Regions from separate parts of the Homo sapiens genome. Here region 2 is linked to region 1. Evidence: promoter capture Hi-C in human tissues and cell types (Jung and others, 2019). All regions are on one chromosome and are shown on one strand. Each heading gives the region's core, a stretch centred on a gene start or on the middle of the fragment in contact. The rest is flanking DNA. Distances are from core to core; before and after follow the strand shown. Region 1 holds the start of NUDT13 (nudix hydrolase 13). Region 2 has its middle 40 kb from the start of DNAJB12.

Region 1 (2,899 bases), core at 188-2,687:
AAAAGCCTAATAAAATAGTAGTTCCTGAGACTAACTGGTTAATGAGGCTACCTCCATGCCACTGTTCCCCAAAACACCTCACCATATTCCATGAGCCAAAGGGAATTCATTTGGTGAGTTTCTTGGACCTTGGGAACTGCTGCCTGATGTTTTGCCTAGTTTCTGCTACTAAATTAACCTTAGCCAGTTGTAGATTATCATGGCTGCTGACTCATGAGCTGATGGTCACAGAGCTATTTATGTTTTTAAAAGTACAATGTTTGATAGAGATGAAAGGTAATAGCAGTCTTACCCAACTACTAAATGATGAGGCAAGGTGCTTTAACATTAAGAGTTTCTTTGAACTCCCCAACACAAATGATTCACACGTTTCTTATCCTGTTCATCTTTCCAGAAGAAAGATTATAAAGTACTACAGCGTGACAAAAAAGCCCATCTTGTAGTGAGCCGAGATCGCGCCACTGCACTCCAGCCTGGGCGACAGAGCGAGACTCCGTCTCAAAACAAAAAAACAAAACAAAACAAGACAAAACAAAAAAAGCCCATCTTGAATCTAGTGGTTACTTCCACCGTGAAGAGGCCAGGTTCCCTAGTATTTAAGAGACCTTTTTTTAGGCCGGGCGCGGTGGCTCACGTCTGTAATCCCAGCACTTTGGGAGGCCGAGGTGGGCGGATCACGAGGTCAGGAGATCGAGACCATCCTGGCTAACACGGTGAAACCCCGTCTCTGTTAAAAATACAAAAAAAAGTGGCTGGGCGTGGTGGCGGGCGCCTGTAGTCCCAGCTACTAGGGAGTATGAGGCAGGAGAATGGCATGAACCCAGGAGGCGGAGCTTGCAGTGAGTGGAGATCGTGTCACTGCACTCCAGCCTGGGCGACCAAGTGATACTTCGCCTGTGTTTAGAGTCCGTTTCTCCACGACTGTGGACCTCCATGGGACAGGGAAATATGGAAAACTGAGGAACCACGGGAATACAGCTTTGAAGGTCTCACTGACCTGCTTTATAGTTTGCTTTCTAAAAAATAATTTTCCCTCCTTTAAAAAAAAATAAAAATTAAGGCACAATGTGAGAGGTTGGCAAGTTCCATTTTTAAATGACTCTCCAAAAAAGTATCAGAAAATGATGAGCTGTGGTTACTGATGTAGCTCCACAGTTATGAGGCAAAACTATGGTTATATCCCTGGTTTCTGCAAAAAGGAAGAGATTAAGCTAAAATGTTAAAATGCTGTGACCACGACCTTTTTTCAAGTTCTGATCATGCCTCCCTGTGAAGTCCTTCCTGCACTTAGAAGCTGAGCAGGTTTCTGTTTCACTGTACTCACTCTGAATTCTTTTCGGGGCACCTTCCTAGTCCTCAGGAATCAGCACAAAAGAGGAAACTCCAAATGTTCACGTTCAACGGCTTCCGTTCCCTGGAGGGACCATTGCTGCTTCTGCCACACTTCCCAGAATCCTCCTAGAGATGCACTCTGGGAATTGTAGTTCAGTTCCCAGGCATGCTGCTGTGTTCTCCAGCTGCAAGTTAACCATGATTGTCAAAAGCATGAACATCTAAGATCTTATTACCAAGAGAACTACTGTATCCTTGGAGAAAGTAGGTTAGTATTAGATCCATTTTTTAATTAAAAAAAGATAAAGTCATTAAGTCCACCCTCATACACAGAAGGCATATATTATGAGGCTGGGGAGAGGATGAAGCAGGGGTGGGAATCAAATACCTTTTAACCTTAGTATATCTCTAGTTCTCTCTCTGCACACTTTAGAACTAGCTCTAAAATTTCATGAAGTTCTTCCAATTTAAAAGGATGGGACTCTGTATAGGTATGTATAGATATGTTTGAACTTATGGTAGGATTCATTTCTTGATCAGAGGAAGCGCATTCCATTTGACTGGAAGTAGTCTCCTAGAAGTGTGTCCGGAGTTGGTTCCTTCCAGTGGGTTCTTGGTCTTGCTGACTTCAAGAATGAAGCCGTGGAGCTTTCGGTGAGTGTTATAGCTCTTAAAGGTGGCACGAACCCAAAGAGTGAGCAGCAGCAAGATTTATTGTGAAGAGCGAGAGAACAAAGCTTCCACAGCGTGGAAGGGGACCCGAGTAGGTTGCCGCTGCTGTTGGGGGTGCCAGCTTTTATTCCCTTATTTGTCCCTGCCCACATCCTGCTGAATGGTCCATTTTACAGAGCACTGATTGGTCCATTTTATGGAGTGCTGATTGGTCCATTTGACAGAGTGCTGATTTGTGCATTTACAATCCTTTAGCTAGACACAGAGTGCTGATTGGTGCGTTTTTACAGAGTGCTGATTGGTGCGTTTACAATCCTTTAGCTAGACACAGTGCTGATTGGTGCATTTACAATCCTTTAGCTAGACACAGAGTGCTGATTGGTGTGTTTACAATCCTTTAGCTAGACACAGAGCACTGATTGGTGCATTTTTACAGAGTGCTGATTGGTGTGTTTACAATCCTTTAGCTGGAAACAGAGTGCTGATTGGTGCGTTTACAATCCTTTACCTAGACACAGAGCGCTGATTGGTGCATTTTTACAGAGTGCTGATTGGTGTGTTTACAATCCTTTAGCTGGACACAGAGTGCTGATTGGTGCATTTTTACAGTGTGCTGATTGGTGCATTTACAATTCTCTAACTAGACAGAAAAGTTCACCAAGTCCCCACTCCACCCAGGAAGTCCAGCTGGCTTCACCTCTCAGCAGAGCTACTTTGGTGCTGCTCTCTTCTCGTTTTACTACTGAAGTTACTTGCCTATGAGAGAAGACACTTTTTTTTTTTTTGAGATGGAGTTGCTCTGTCGCTCAGGTTGGAGAGCAGTGGTACGTACAATCTTGGCTTACTGAAACCTCCTCCTCCGGAGTCAAGTGATTCTCCTGCTTCAGCCTCCCGA
Region 2 (2,899 bases), core at 124-2,623, 800 kb after region 1:
AGAGGAGAGGAAGGAAGAGTGGCAGAGGGCTCAGGGTCAGATGTCTGAGCTTCTGTTCCCATGGGTGCCTCTCATTATGCTTGTCAGGAAGCAGAAGAGAGTGCAACCTTTGACCTCATCTGAACTAACCCATCTCACCCTGGTTTCTCTTCCCTGACTGTCTCCGAACCTGTTACCCCACTTGGAAAATCAGGGGGTAGTGCAGGGGTGAACCCTCCATTCTGGAATCACCCAGCCTCCAGTGGTTTCAGGTCCACACCCACCAGTTGTGTGACACTGGACAACTGGCTTTGCTCCTGCTCTGCCTCAGTTTCCCCAAAAAATTAGTTAATGCATGGAAAGTGTTTAGAAGAGATCCTCATAGACAGTAAGTGTGTCTGTTCCCTGTAGTGTCAGCTACTAACTGTATGGCTAGGAAAATAACAGTAACTCCCTCATCAGCTGTGCTGAGGATTCCATCAGATCATGTATGTAAAGTGGTTGGCATAAGCACACTTAGTGTTCAGTGTTTACTTGTCTTACTAAAGATCACAAAATGGGGCTACAGATCTTGGTCCCTGAAATGCTGGGGCATGAGCACGGTAGCTGCTGGGGGCTTCCTGGGAAAGGAACACAGGCCTTCCATGTCCCTGGGAGCCACATTGGTCTGATGGTGTTACTGAGTGTTGTGTTGCTGAACTGTCTGCTTAGTCACCTGCCTGCTACCTCAAACACATTTAAACCAACTCCTTCTGGACTGGCTTTCCCAATATACTATCCTGGCACTGTCACAGGCCTAGAGCACTGGGCAAAGTGTCAGACCTGCTGCAAAATACAGTTGGAACTTTATCTGACCCTTGGCTCCTGTCCCAAGCAGAAATATATTGGCAGGAACTTGCAGCAAAGCTGAAGCAAGCCTGGGAGCTGGAGGAGGAAGGTGGCCTGGGATGGCCAACCACATACTCCCCCCACGCCCTCCATCCTTGTTGGCCCCCCTTTTTATTTATACAGTGTTGCTAATTAATGCCATTCTTAGTTATGAAGCCGTGTTACAAACCTAGGGCTTAACTGTGAGCCCTGGATTTGTAGAGAAGGGATGGAAAGAGGGGAAAGAGAACCATTCCCCAAAAACTCAGGGAAGTACACTGCAGAGATTTCCTCTTTCTTCCCTCAGTGTCATTTGGAGCCGACTTTCTGGAGGCCAGGACAATCTTTTGCACAGTGGTGCTGTCCGGAACTCCCCCGAAAGAGCCCATGACAATGGCAGCAGGGACAGCCATGCCAGATTGGAACTTGGCCAGCTATGGAGGGGAGAATGTCTCAGCCTGGGTGTCTCCACCCCAAACCAAGGCCAAGGGCAAAGGCAAACCTCTCTTCCCTCCCGGTTCCATTTGGCAACTCCTGCAGGGAGGTCCCAGGCAAGTCTAGGAGGTCCCAGGCCAGTCTTAACAGGTCTTCCTGCAGGTACTCCTGGAAGGCCATTGTCTTAGAATAAAAGGAATTCCAGGGGCACCTCACCACAAGCACACGTTTGAGCATTCAAAAGAGCTCGAGCTCGTGAGTGAAAGGAAATGAGGAAAAAGAAACAATGTGGCATGACCAGAAAGAGTTCTACATGTTAAGTTGCTTTTTCTTGCTTTCTTTTTTTTTTTTTTTGAGACGGAATTTCGCTCTTGTTGACAAGGCTGGAGTGCAGAGGCGTGATCTGTGCTCACTGCAACCTCCCCTTTCCTGGTTCAAGTGATTCTCCTGCCTCAGCCTCCCAAGTAGCTGGGATTACAGGCGACCACCACCACGCTCGGCTAATTTTTGTATTTTTAGTAGAGACAGGGTTTACCATGTTGGCCAGGCTGGTCTTGAACTCCTGACCTCAGGTGATCCACCCACTTCGGCCTCCTTAAGTGTTGGGATTATAGGCGTGAGCCACTGCGCCCGGCCAAATTGCATTTTCTTTTTTCGTTTTTTCTTAGAGACAGAGTCTCACTGTGTCACCAGGCTGGAATACACTGGTGTGATCAGAGCTCACTGCAGCCTTGATCTCTCACGCTTAAGCGATCCTCCTGCCTCAGCCTCCCTAGTAGCTGGGACTACAGGCATGTGCCACCATGCTCAGCTGATTGATTGATTGATTGATTGATTGAGACAGGGTCTCGGTCTATCGCCCAGGCTGGAGTGCAGTGGCACAGTCTCGCTTGCTGCAACCTTCGCTTCCTGGGCTCAAGTGATCCTCCCACTTCAGCCTCCCAAGTAGATGGGACTACAGGCACTCACCATCATGCTCAGTTAATTTTTAAATCTTTTGTAGAGACGGGGTCTCCCTATATTGCCCAGGGTGGTCTCAAACTCCTGGGCTCAAGTGATTCTCCTGCTTTGGCCTCCCAAAGTGCTGGGATTACAGATGTGAGCCACTGTGGCTGGCCCTAAATTACATTTTTTGAAGGTCCAAAATTCCCATAGCACAGGTAATACTGTCAAGGCCTTAAGCTTGGCTGGACGCGGTGGCTCACGCCTGTAATCCCAGCAATTTGGGAGGCCGAGGCAGGTGGATCATGAGTTCAGGAGATGGAGACCATCCTGGCGACATGGTTAAACCCCATCTCTACTAAAAATAAAAAATATTAGCTAGTTGTGGTGGTAGGTGCCTGTAGTCCCAGCCACTCCGAAGGCTGAGGCAGGAGAATCTCTTGAATCCAGGAAGGGGAGGTTGCAGTGGGCCGAGATTGCGCCACTGCACTCCAGCCTGGGGGACAGAGTGAGACTCCATCTCAGAAAAAAAATAAAAATAAATTAAATAAAAAATAAAAAATCTTAAGCTTTACAGATTTGGAATTCATTAGGTTCAGAATGTTTAAAAAATCAGCCTGGTCAAATTTGAGTATAAACTGGATATGAGATGATATTATGGAACCATTGTTAGTTT

What was found. The method cuts DNA at HindIII sites, captures the fragments that hold promoters and counts their contacts. A contact is called where the count stands out against the background at its distance.
Region 2: a contact is called between a fragment that was not itself captured here and the fragment with the promoter of NUDT13 in region 1, in 1 of the 25 tissues and cell types used here (lymphoblastoid cells).

The regions. Positions count from the first base shown.
Region 1 is chr10:73,108,993-73,111,891 of GRCh38, reverse strand. NUDT13 (nudix hydrolase 13) reads right to left here and starts at 1,437. Exons shown (of 9, transcript NM_015901.6): 1 at 1,325-1,437. The HindIII fragment of the contact is 13,958 bases long and covers 1-2,657 here.
Region 2 is chr10:72,313,707-72,316,605 of GRCh38, reverse strand. No RefSeq gene overlaps it. Among named protein-coding and RNA genes, the nearest start is that of DNAJB12, 40 kb to the left of the region's middle. The HindIII fragment of the contact is 5,549 bases long and covers 1-2,899 here.